2 separate regions of the Homo sapiens genome follow, and region 1 is linked to region 2. The links are contacts of gene promoters, found by promoter capture Hi-C in blood cells and fetal thymus (Javierre and others, 2016). All regions are on one chromosome and are shown on one strand. Each heading gives the region's core, a stretch centred on a gene start or on the middle of the fragment in contact. The rest is flanking DNA. Distances are from core to core; before and after follow the strand shown.

What was found. The method cuts DNA at HindIII sites, captures the fragments that hold promoters and counts their contacts. A CHiCAGO score of 5 or more calls a contact.
Region 1: a fragment that was not itself captured here is called in contact with the fragment with the promoter of GPC1-AS1 in region 2 in 1 of 17 cell types (endothelial precursors); the score reaches 5.2 in endothelial precursors.

The regions. Positions count from the first base shown.
Region 1 is chr2:240,197,088-240,203,778 of GRCh38, reverse strand. No RefSeq gene overlaps it. Among named protein-coding and RNA genes, the nearest start is that of OTOS, 60 kb to the right of the region's middle. RefSeq lists an enhancer at 2,942-3,443 and a silencer at 5,299-5,471. The HindIII fragment of the contact is 3,467 bases long and covers 117-3,583 here.
Region 2 is chr2:240,452,221-240,458,268 of GRCh38, reverse strand. GPC1-AS1 (GPC1 antisense RNA 1) reads left to right here and starts at 1,569. Exons shown (of 3, transcript NR_161169.1): 1 at 1,569-1,672. All of the region lies in intron 1 of GPC1 (glypican 1), which reads right to left. MIR149 (microRNA 149) reads right to left here and starts at 2,268; the gene lies at 2,180-2,268. RefSeq lists enhancers at 1-365, 2,318-2,968 and a silencer at 5,464-5,513. The HindIII fragment of the contact is 6,703 bases long and covers 1-3,334 here.

The sequences.
Region 1 (6,691 bases), core at 601-3,100, 250 kb after region 2:
GCCAGGCCCAAGCAAGGAGCTGGGTACCAGAGATGACAAAGGACCGGGAATCCTTGTGCTAATTAGAGCAAGTCGGCGCTTCAGCGAGGAATGTGGAGTGACGTCACATGAAAGCTTTCTGCTTGAATTATTGCCAATTTAATTTCTATGTAATTAACAGCAGGGCATGCTGGAATTAATGAGATTCCCCAACACATTTCTCTGGCTCTCCCCTCCCCTCTACGCTCCTTCCCTCCAATACTTCCTTTCTCCTTCTGGTCCACACAGGCTCAAAGCAGAAACCGACAGCTGTCCTGGATGGCTGACCACCTTCGCAGAGGCCATGCCAACACCCGCACGCATCTGCTGTGTGCCTCAGGCCTTCTTGTGCCCTGATGGACATTCCCCACATGCTGCAGACCACATGGGACACCCAAGGGGCTGGGCATCCAGCCCTTCTCTCTTGTTAACACAGAGTCCTGTGCAGGCAGAGGGAGTCTCTTCCTGGCCCCTTGTAATGCCCAGCATTTTGCACTAGCCCTGTGCAGAGCGGGGGCTCAGTGAATATTCACATATGACAGCTTACCTGGCGGTTCTCAGCATGGTCTCTGCTCAACACCACCTGCCTCTCCACCTGCCCGCACTCCTGCCCTTCCTCCAAGTCTCAGCTGCCACCTCCTCCAGGAAGCCTTCCAGATTCCAGCTCAGGCCAATGACCACCCTGCACCCCCACTGCACCCTGGGAACTTTACTGCACCCTGGGGATGGTGCCATCCTGTGACCCTTCCCTTCCCAGAGTCCAGGCTCAGGTCTTGGTCATCTCCGGAGCTGGGCTCCTCCCAGAGGCCCTAGTGAGGGAAAAGGGCATGGCCAATGGTGTGGACAGACATTGTCCAGTGTGGAGCAGGTGTGAAGTGAATGCCAAGGGGATACTGGGGCTTCACCCCCAGCCTCTGTTCTCAGACGCCCAAAACCACAGCAGCAGCCCGAGAGATGGAGGGACCAGAGCCAGCTCCCTCTGCAAGGGTGAGGTGGAGGGAGTGTGGCCCCCGCAGAGCCAGTCCCAGCTGGCGTTTTCCCAGCTGCCAGGGGAAACCTTCTTATTTGGTGTCTATGGGTCTCTTGTTATTCTGGTTTACAATTTAATAGCTCCTTTGAAAAATTGCTTTATTGTTTTTATGTTTTAAATGATCTTTGTTCACTGTAACTTTTAGAAAGTCACAAATTCAGAAAGAGCAAGAAAAAATGGAAAAAAGAATCAACTGAAATTTCACCTTCCAGAGAGGAGTTTGGTGTATTTCCTTGCAAACTCTACATTTTTTTTTGAGAATGGAATTATATGACTTACACTATTCTGTCACTTACTGTTTGCATTGGTGCACAGAAATTATCTTGGAGAATAGTCTCTGTTGATCAATATAGATACAACTTCCTTTCTCTCTCACTCCACACACACACACACACACACACACACACACCACAGTTTTCCATTTATTGTGAAGGCTGTAATAAATAATGGATGTGCACTGGTTTACTTAACCAACTTCATTTTGATGGACACTACTTTGGTTCTAGTTATTTAGGATTTAAAAATAATGCTGCAGTGAGCATGTTTGTATTCTTGTATGAGTGCTTCTGGAGAATAAGTTCTCACAGTGGCACTGCTGGGCCAGAAGCCTGCATGAATTAGCGTCCGATGGGCGTCCTCATGCCTCTCCCTGTCAGCGGTGCCCTGTGTGTTTCCATCCATGACACACAGGCAGGCATAGCCCCTCGCCCAGCCGTCATCAGGCGATGCCAACCTCTGTCACACAGGGCGCTCTGGGAAGCAGAAAATGCCTGCTCACTATTTCCATTTGAATTTTTAATTCTTCAGTGAGATGATAATATTCTCATGTGTTTGTTGACTATATTTCACGGCCAAAGAAGCAAACTAGATGTTTTGCAGCCTCACAAAAACTACTTTTAAATAGGTAAAAGGGTCATACATTTAAAAAACTCATGGAGTACTGCTGTGTAATATTATGTTGAGGAGGGAAAGTCCCTTCTTAGCCTAACAAGGCCAGAAAGTATTTTTAAAAAACACCAAGTTGATTGCATTTTTTAAGTCAGTAAGGTAAAAAAAAAAAAAACCTCATAAAGAAGCTGAAAGGGAAACAATAAGGGGTTTCCAATGTACATTCAAACTAATATAAAATTACAAATTTAAAAGCCTGCATGCATTAGCGTCTGATGGGCGTCCTCACGCCCACCAGATAAAATGGTAAAAATCCAGCGGAATGAAGGGAGAAGGGGCATGAACATGCAATTGATAAAGTAGGCAATTTGCCTCCTTTGCCCCTTTCTCAGGAGGCTCAAGGAGGATAAGCCAAGAGACCAGGGGCTGTGGAGGACCAGGGCTCCGTTCTCCCCAGACAAAGGCAGAAGGAATTCCTGGGAGGACGGGAGGTCCTGGGGCAGCAGCTCTAGAACAGGGGCATGGACAGCTCCAGGAGCAACAAGCAGAGAGCCAAAGCTCTGAGTCTATGCACTCACGACAGGTACATAGAAATTAAGCAGACAGAGCAAGGCAGTGATTAACCATGGAAGAAGATCTGTGTCAGAAAAGCAGCCATGGGGAATATTTGCAAAGAGTAATGCAAACATTGAGTGCAGAGTTAACCCAGCTGTGGTCTAACTCAGTGCGGGTCTGGTGGGAAGGCAAAGTGTGGTGTGGGAAGGGGAAGATGGCGCAAGGTGGCTGAACCTTTAGCTTTTGGAGTAAAAATGGGGGCAACATCTGATATTGAAAATTCAAGTCAGTACCGCCATGTAGCCAGTGACAGGAATGGCTAGAGGCTGGGAGAAGCTGCAGCTGGGATTAGCCGGGGGGTGGAGGGATTGAGTCGGCACAGCTGGTTTGCAGCAGAAGCCTCGCTACCCTCAGCCCTCACTGGCCTGTCCTCCCCTGCATCCGGAGCAGCTGGGCGTCGCCGTGCAATGGGCTCCTCCCGTGGTATGTGAGTGCATCCCAGGCAGGCCGGTGGTCAGAGGTGGCCTGTCCCTTCCCACAGTGCAGCTGGTGAAGCCCCGCACTGACCCGGCGGACGATGAGCAGGGTGGAGAGCACGGGCTGGAAGCAAGGCCTTGAGGAAGTAACGCCTATCCAGCGACATGGAGGTTTTAGTGTGGGAACTGTGAAGAAATAGTTCATGACACTAACAGCATAAAGAAAAACAAGTGGTATTTTTAAACAGATGCAAGCACAAAATGCATGTTTGACAGCTGTGTTAGTTATCAGTGCTCATAACGAATCATCCCAAAACTTAGCAGCTTTACACAATAGACATTTGCTATCTCACAGCATCTGTGGTCAGGAAGCTGGCCTGGAGAGAGAGTGAGAGAGCTTGCCCGAGATAGACGCTGCAGCGTTTTCATAAGCTGTGCCAGTCGGGTTTTCACCTCCACCATCGCTTCTGCTCTGTGCTATTGTTAGAAGCTCATCATGAACAGCCACGCTCAAGGGAAGAGAACTCAATTCCACCTTCCACCCTTCAGGAGGGCATTTCAGATAATCTGTGGGCCTACTTTTAAAACCATCACGCCGACTTTTGGTGTTAAAGCTTCTTGTGAGAAGTAGAAAATGAAGAAATCTTTCTCAATATAATGTGAATTATATATTCCATTATTAAAAACCAGCAGCAAGTGCCCCACTAAATGTAGCACACGGTGAATGATGATGGGAGTGAAGGCAAGGTCTTGGGAAATGACTGGACCTGGATTGAAGCCATTGCTTGAATTCTATTAGTGTGGCTTATGTGGTCACAGGTAGACCTGAGAATAAAAGGAGGTGGGGACCAGACCTCCTCTCTTCAGGGGAAAAGACTGTCTTTGTTCTGGGGGAGACATTCTTGTCCCCTTGTGGGGTCCCTACTCAGTTAGGTAAGGACCCCTTAGTGACATCATGTCAAGGCAGTGTCTGAAAATCCCTGGGAAGCCCCAGGGGTCCCTGAGAAGTGGACTGCTGGACCCCGAAGTGTGCTGCTGAGGTGCTCTTGTTCTCCTGCCCGGGTCTGCTGGGGGGCGGGAAGGCAGCCGGGCAAGGTGAGGAGTGGATTTCCTGCCATCGATCACCCTGCAGGAGATGAGGACTGGCCACGGCGGGCAGAAGGCCATGGAGGCCTGGGCCTTGGTTCACACGAGCTGGCCCCTGGAGCCAGGTGAGGGGCTGCCCGGGGATGCCTCATGTGAGGGGTGCAGAGGGTGGGTGGGCCTGGGTGCCCCGTGTAGCCACAGCTCTCAGAGCTGCCAGCCAGGCTGGATCCACTCCCTTCCCTTGTTCCGGAACCTGAAGCATTCAAATGTTCCTTGAAACAAAGTGACCCAACTCTCCCACAGGGGTTCCAGCCAAGGCTTGGGGGTGTGGTGGAAGCCCTCAGATCCAAGCCATAGCCTCAGCCCTGCTGTGCCAGCCACAGCTCCTTCCCAGTTAGTTCAAAGCCTAGGGTGAGGAATGGGAAGCCGCTGGAAATGCCACGAGTTTGTAGCAGTTTGCAGAGCCCTGTGACCGTGATGAATGGGTGATGGCAGGGGCAAAAGATGGGCATTGGCCAGGCAGGACGGTGGGGGAGGGGGGAAGCAGGGCTTCCCCGACTGCACCAGCAATGTCCTGGCTTGGACCATTCTTTGTTGTGGGGGCTGCCCTGCACACCCTGCCCTCTACTTGCCAGATTCCAGAACACCCTCCTCCAAGGTGTGGCAACCAAAAACATCTCCAGGCAGCACAAAATGTTAAGAACCACTGCATTCATGTTAGCTCCAGTCTGGCTGACTTAGAAGTAACCAGGGACTTCTCCGGGGCCAGTCATGTCTCATGGTCCCATTCCCTGGATGGCCAAAGGCTATGATCAGGAACGGGTGCATACCCTGGGGAAGGAATTCAGTGACAATGATGAGCAGTGATGGGCAGTGACGGCAGTGATGGACAGTGGTGGGAAGTGATGGACAGTGGTGGGAAGTGATGGACAGTGATGGATGGTGATGGGGGTGATGGACAGTGATGGGCAGTGATGGACAGTGGTGGGCAGTGATGGACAGTGATGGGCAGTGATGGACAGTGGTGGGCAGTGATGGACGGTGATGGGCAGTGATGGACGGTCATGGGCAGTGATGGACAGTGATGGGCAGTGATGGACAGTGGTGGGCAGTGATGGATGGTGATGGGCAGTGATGGGCGGTGATGGACGGTGATGGACAGTGATGGACGGGATGGGCAGTGATGGGGGTTGATGGACAGTGGTGGGCAGTGATGGACAGTGATGGGCAGTGATGAGTAGTGATGGGTGTTGATGGACTGTGATGGACAGTGATGGACGTTGATGGGCGGTGATGGATGGTGATGGATGGTGATGGGCAGTGATGGACGGTCATGGGCAGTGATGCATAGTGATGGGCAGTGATGGACAGTGATGGGCAGTGATGGACAGTGGTGGGCAGTGATGGATGGTGATGGGTGGTGATGGGCAGTGATGGGCAGTGATGGATGGTGATGGACAGTGATGGACAGTGATGGGCAGTGATGGGCAGTGATGGGGGGTGATGGACAGTGGTGGGCAGTGATGGACGGTGATGGGCAGTGATGGGCAGTGATGGACAGTGGTGGGCAGTGATGGATGGTGATGGGTAGTGATGGACAGTGATGGGCAGTGCTGGACAGTGATGAGTAGTGATGGGCGGTGATGGACTGTGATGGACAGTGATGGACGTTGATGGGCGGTGATGGATGTTGATGGGCGGTGTTGGGCGGTGATGGACGGTGATGGACGGTGATGGACGGTGATGGACAGTGATGGACAGTGATGAGTAGTGATGGGAAGTGATGGACAGTGATGAATGGTGATGGACAGCGATGGACGGTGATGGACAGTGATGGACTGTGATGGACGGTGATGGACAGTAATGGTCGGTGATGGACAGTGATGAGTAGTGATGGGCGGTGATGGACAGTGATGGACAGTGATGAGTAGTGATGGGCAGTGATGGATGGTGATGGACAGTAATGGTCGGTGATGGACAGTGATGAGTAGTGATGGGTGGTGATGGACAGTGATGGACAGTGATGAGTAGTGATGGGCGGTGATGGACAGTGATGGATGGTGATGAGCACAGACAGGGCATGACTCGCTCAGCCCCTTTCCTTGTCGCAGCACCATGAAGCCTGTGAAGACTGTGAGCCTGGCCAGGAGCTGCTGTGTATCCACCTCCACTATCAGGCATTGCCACTACTCTGGTGGACCTAGCTTGACCTGGGGCTGCAGGGCATGGAACAGAGAGAGGCCTGGAGTAAGGGTCCAGGCAAACTCAGAAGACAGGCCAGTTCCCAAGCAGCTGGCAGGGAGGGACAGAGGAGAAGCAAGACCCAAGGACACACCCAGCACAAGGACAGGATGGGGTGTGGGCCTGTGGGCAGCAGGAGTCTGGTCTCGGGCACTCTTGGCGTCTGGCAAGTCACTGCCCCAGCTGGGAACAGAGGCAGGCCGGGGCAGGGGAGGTCCTAGAGCTGCCAGCTGGTTCATATTTCATCCTCCCTGAAGCCCCATCCTCAGTCCCAGCTGGTCCAGCAGAGGACCAGACAGCTGAAGACGTCAGCAAACTCAAAGCCAGCATGAGTGGAGGGGGCTTCCGCACAGGCTCCTCCAACCTTGTGGGCTCTCCCTTGTGGGATCCTTGTGGG
Region 2 (6,048 bases), core at 320-2,819:
GTCAGCTCTCAGCCCTGCTGTGCACACCTCAGGGCCCACCTGGAATGGGTGTGTGGCATCAGGAAAAACTGCATTTTTTAAAGGGTGTGCATCGCACTGTGATGAAGGCTGCCGCAATCCTCATTTTATTAACCAGAAAACCGGGGCTTACAGGGATGAGGTCTCGTCCCAGCTATACAGTGAGGGGGCAAGTGGTTCCGGCTGCCTAAGCTCAGGACTCCACACTGACGGGGCCACACTGTTCCTTCTGGGCCTCGTCCCCCGCCTCTAAGGCCCTCCTGGTGCTGGCCTAGGTCAGGCACAGTGGAGAGGTGGAAGCAGGAGCCTGGCTTGGTCAGAGGGGTGGGGTCAAGGGGGGGCGTTGTCAGCAGGAATTCCAGCAACTTTCCTCAGGACTGCCGCCTCAGGGGCCTGTCTCATCCTGTTCTGGGACCCTGGGCCAGGGTGGCTGGAATGCAGCAGGTCCTGCATTCTTTTACGCCCTCCTGAGGGTCAGCAGGAAGTGAAGGCCAGGCCAGGGAGGAGAGGCAGGAGAGGGAGCCAGGACCGGGACCGAGGGCGGGGTCAGCCCGGGCAGAGGCACCTGGCTCGAGGCTGTCCTGGGGGAGCTGGCAGCAGCTCCAGCCCTGCCTGGAGGTGGGAGCAGGGATCTGTAGCCCCACTGCAGGCAGGGCCTGGAGCAGCGCAGGCAGTGCCCTACCCGCTTACTGCAAGAGAAGTCACCCCTCAGGCCTGGGGTCCAGGAAGCCCTTACCCACTAGAGGCCATCTGGGGTGGGGACCCAGGACTAGGTAACTACCCAGAGGTTGAATGCCTGGGTCAGACTGAGTTTGCTGATCTTCCGCACCCTCTAAGTACACACACTCAGGGAGGAGCCCGAGACAAGAGAAGGGAACAGAGAACCCGAATCCGGGCTTGGGCGGCTGCCGCTTGGCCCCTGTAGCCTCTGTGCCTGCTGACATGACAGCAAGGAGACAGGTTGTCAGAGGGGCCTGGGAGAGCGAGGGAGGGCCGAGGTAGGGGTTCTTATCCTGGAGCGCTCCCTCCTTGCCCTCTTTTCCTGTCTGAGTTCTGGAATGTACTGATGCAGGGGGCTCTGGCTTGAGCTAGAGGGGGAGGGAGTCCTCCGCAGGGGCTGCAGGTCCAGGGATTCCCCAGGGCCTGGACTTACATGTGCCCATGCTGCAGACAGAGCGGGAATGGCAAGTGCACCTGCGCCCCCCGCCCCTCCTTACCTCCAGATGCCTGCTGGAGGGGGAGTTGGGGGTCCAACAGAGTCTGGGGCCAGGAGGGCCTTGTGGGAGCCAGCTGGGGTGAGGACAGAGCCCGGCTCTGAGAGCCCTGGGGCCTAGTAGAGAAGGGGTGCTCCTTCCCCACTCCTCACATGGGTGGGAAGGCGCCCTCAGGCAAGAAGACTGGGACACAGGTACACTCGCCAGGGACCATCCTTCACTCTGCAGCCTTTATTCACTGATGGGATTCTGCCCCAGTCCCACCCCCGTGGGGGCAGGATTTAGAGCAGGAACCGCCCCTCCGGGTCCTTTCCTGGGGCCTGTGCCAGGCTGAGCAGACTCAGGAGGCGTCTCTCCGAGGGTGTGGGCTGTGATGGGGCCCTGTGCACCCATCCAGGCTGCCCAGACCAGGAGAGCACAGGTCAGCCGGACACATGATGGTAATGGGCTGGGCAGTGGGAGGGAAACGTGCCTGGGGGAGGGGGTGGCAGGTGCCAGCTGAGCTTCCCGGTGACACACCCTGGGCTCAGCTGAGATGGGCTCAGCTGTGACGGGGCACCCAGGCCAGGCTGGCTGGGCCACAGGAACCGAGTGAGCTGGTCCAAGACTCAGGACTAGGGCTCAAGCACTCCTAGGGAGGAGGGTGGGTGGCGTCCCCCGCCGGCTCCTCCTGTGCCCCTCCCTCGCGAGGTCCCGGCGGACCCACTCCCCAGCCCCCACCACGCAGACGGGAGAGGCTGACGAGAGGCATGGAGAGGTGAGGCCCGAAACACCCGTAAGATATGGGAGCTCCCCCCACCTGCAGGTTCTGAGGGGCTCCTCGGCGCCGTCAGCCACCTCTCACACCCCCTCACGGCCGCGCACCGGCCCCCGCGCCTCAGCCTCCCCCGCCGACCCCTCAGCCCCGCCCGGCCAACTCGCCCAGCCGGCCCGGCGACCTGCGTTGTTCCAGCTGCCCCAGCACAGCCCCCGTCCCTCCCTCCCTCCTCGGACAAGCACGGGAGTGAAGACACGGAGCCAGAGCTCGGGCGCCGGCCTGGGAGCCCCCGGCAGGCTGGACGCAAGGCGGGCGAAGGCCTGGGAGCCTCGGGCAGGCTGGATCGAGGCGGCCCCCTGAGGCCCGCTGCAGGCTGGACGCACGGCAGTCAAAGGCAGGAGGCCTCCCGCTGGCTTCCTTCTGCGGAGCTCCGGCCCGGCGCAGGCCGGGGCCACAGGTTGTGGTCCTGGACATGAGATGGCAGAGGCCGGCTCTGCAGAGTCCCCCTGCAGGGCGGCAAAGCAAGCCCCCTCCTGGAAGAATGCCAGGGGCTGGGGCCTTTCTGAATGGAGAGCAATGTGCCCAAGACCAGCTGTCATCTTAAATCTCCCCACCCAGGGGCCTCCCCACCCCCAGGGGCCTCCCCACCACTTCTCTCAGCTCAACACCTGGGGATAGAGAGGCCTCAGGCCAGGAGGGAACCCTCCCCATGTCCCTCTCCCTCTCCTTCCTGGCCTTTCTCCTCCTCCAACCCAGAGGGAGGCATTTTCCAACCTAGGGGGTGAGTCCCGGCAGCCCATCCCCTTCCCCCCGTGCAGGGAGGCATCTGGGCCCTTCCGGCCCACCCCTCCCTCTGGCCCTGGGGCTGCTCAGGTCAAGGTCACCGGGCCTGCTCCCCGCTGGGCCAGGGACTGGACCCTCTCTTCCCTGATCCCTGGGCTGAAGTTGCTGTAGCCGACCCATCCTTCCACAGCGCTCCCCTCCCTCAGTCACTGGGACACTTCCCTTCCCCAGTGCTCTGAGGATTTTTTTGGGGGGGAAGGGGATTATTTGTTTAATGGCAGATTCATCCCCCACCTCAAACCCAGAGTCTCCAGTTCCCAGGCTCCTGCTCCTCAGGTTAAAGCACAGAGCTCTTGCTCCCTGGCTCGTAGGCAGCTGCTGTCTCGTTCCATCTTCCCCCTCCCGATCCTGACGGTTCTGGACCACCCCACTCTGCTGCTCCTCACTAAGCCCCCACCAGCCTTAACTTTGGATACCTTTTAGGTCATGCATTCTCGTCCCCTGCTGACATGTCCCCACCCCGCAGTTTCCTCTTGGTCATCAGCACCTTCACCCCAAAGCTTTAGGCGAGACTCCCATCCTGACAGTGGCCCCCATCCCCAATGATGGACCCAGACCTCATTTGTCCAGACCCAGCCTGGCAGCTGCCCGTGACCAGTGGCTCTGGAGCCCTCCCAAGGAGAATGCAGAGAGATGATGGCGCCACGCCACGCCCATCCCTCCAGAAGCTTCCACGGCTCACACAGGAGGTGCAGACTGTAAAGCCGGCTTTATCCACCTTTACAGCCTCGTCCTAGACACTCAGTGTCAACAGACTCGAATGCCTAAGGTACCGGAATTTGGCGTGGACAGTCAGCCTGCATTGCCTCCCACGGTGCTGGAGTAGGGCTGTGTGCAGAGCTCCAGGCACCGCAGCCCCCCAACACGCAAGGGAAGAGCCTAGGCCTCCCCGCTCCTGCCCTCTACTCAGCTCTGCACCCGGCAACGGGGCCTTCCTGGCTGGCCGATGGCTGCGAAGGCTTTCCCCAAGCCCGAACCCTCTTCTCGAAGCCTGCCCCAGCCCCTGGCCCATCTGCTCTCGGACCCCAACCAGCTCCGGTGGCTGTGGCATCCTCCGGCACGTCCAGCAGCCTCCTGGGGTGAGGGTGCACTGGACAAACGACCCAGGGGGTTTCCTGGGGACCACCCACTGCCCAGGCTGCAGAGGATCTTTTCCTCACTTTTGCCCCATCCTCTAAGAAGCCTGCGCCCCTGGCCAGTCCCTGTCCGCCTGGGCTCCTGACGTCTGAGCCAGAGGCAGCCTTGGCCCCACCTGCGAGGTGGACCGGCCACGGCATCTCAGCTCCTCGTCAACGGCATCCACGGCCCCCAGACTCACCCCATCGTGCTTCCCTCCCCTCCCCACACCCCTGCCGTCTGCCCGAAGCCCCCCCGCCACCATTTCACCCAAATGACAGCGTCGCCAAGGAGCCCCTCCGCCGCCGCAGAACCTCCGCCGCGCACTGCGACCCGAAACCGAGGGGCGTCGTAGGGACACCTCTGCCCCGGGTGGGAGGGTCCGCGCCCCAGGCCGGCTAAGGCTCCTGTCACCCGCGGCTGCTTGCGAGGGCGACAGGCGTGAAACCGGCCCCGGCGGCGGAACAAAGGCTCGGCGGCACCGGCGGCAGCGTCGCCGCCCTGGGGGTCCCGGGCGCCCCGATGCCAGTCGCCAGCCGCCGCGGCCAGGGACGAAGACGGCAAACCGCGCAGCCGGAGCGGGTGCGCAGGGGTCTGGACACGCAGCAGCGCCGGCGGCCCGGCGAGGAGGGGGCACTGGTGCAGTGGGCGCGGCGGGGAGGGAAGGGGGCGGGCGGGGAGAGGGGGCTGCGGCGGGCAGGCGAGGGGAGGGGGGCGCCGCGATTGGCGGGGAAGGGGCTTGTCGCAGCGGGTGCGGCAGGCACGGGGGTGGGGGAGGGGGCTCGAAGGGCTGCGACGGCCCGGGGAGGGGGATGGGCCTGGCGGAAGAGGAAGGGGGGCCCCGGGGCGGCGGCAGGCGATGCGGGAGCGGGGCGGGCGGAGGGAGCGGGGCGGGCGGAGGGAGCGGGGCGGGCGGAGGGAGCGGGGCGGGCGGAGGGAGCGGGGCGGGCGGAGGGAGCGGGGCGGGCGGTGGGAGCGGGGCGGGCGGTGGGAGCGGGGCGGGCGGTGGGAGCGGGGCGGGGACGCCGGGATGCGGCCCGGGAGGGGTAGGGGTAGGTGCAGCTGGGGCGACGGGTGGGGTGGGACTGGGGACGGGCCACGGACTCCCGACAGGAGGGGCGGAAAGGGGATGGGGCTGCGGCGGCCAAGCGGGGCAGGACGGAGCGGAGGATGGGACAGAGGCGGTGGGGACGAGGAGCGGGTGGAGATGGGGGTGGCGCGCCTGCGGATGCGGGTACGGTGGCGCTGCGGGAGAGGTCCTCGGGCCTGGCTTCCAGCGCGGCGGCGGACGCGGGACCCCCTTCGCAGCGGCGGCTCCAGCGGCTCCGGGCGGCGCGCGGGCTCTGGGTGCAGGTGCTCGGGCCGGGGAAAGGCGGCGGAGCGGGGCCGGGCGGAAGGGCTCGCAGGAGGCGAAAAGCCAGCGGGGGACGAGGGCGGGCTGCGGTCCGCCGGGCGCGCGGGAGACTCTGGCCGCAGCCACCCCGGGCAGCGCCGCAGCCGCACTGGCGCGCACGGCCGAGGGCGGTGGCTCCCGGCGCGGGGACGAGCGTCCTCCCGCAGCCCCCGCCCCGCCGCGCTCGGCACCGCCCCCGTCTCCCTGGAAACCGCAGGCGGCCGCCCCGGCCCCTCCGGCCAGGTCCCCGCCGCCCTGCGCCCGCCTTCCTGCCCGCCGCCGAGGCCGGGCCCCTCCCTCCCGCCTGCGGGTGCTGCTCCTGTTCTCCGCGGGCAGTCCGGGCCTCCTAGGCTCCCCACTGCAGCTAAGCGGGCCCAGGCCTTGGTGCAGGGGCTCCTGGGTCTCAGCAGGGCCGGCGCTCGGGGGAGCCGGGGCCCCTCCCCGGAGGGTAATGGGGGCGGGGTGTCGGGTTTCTCTCTGTGCTGAAGGTGGCAGCTGACCACCGCTGTCCTCACGCAAAGCTGCCATGGTCATTCCACATCCTCTACCTGCCCCCTCCAGCCCCCAGTCCAATGGCACCCGGGCCTTGACTCCAGACCCCCCTGCCCCTATATCCTGACCTGCTTTCCCTCTGACATACCAAACCCAACAGGCCACATCCTTCCACCAAGTCTCCCACCCAGGTGCCCCCAGCCTGGGAGGTCTAT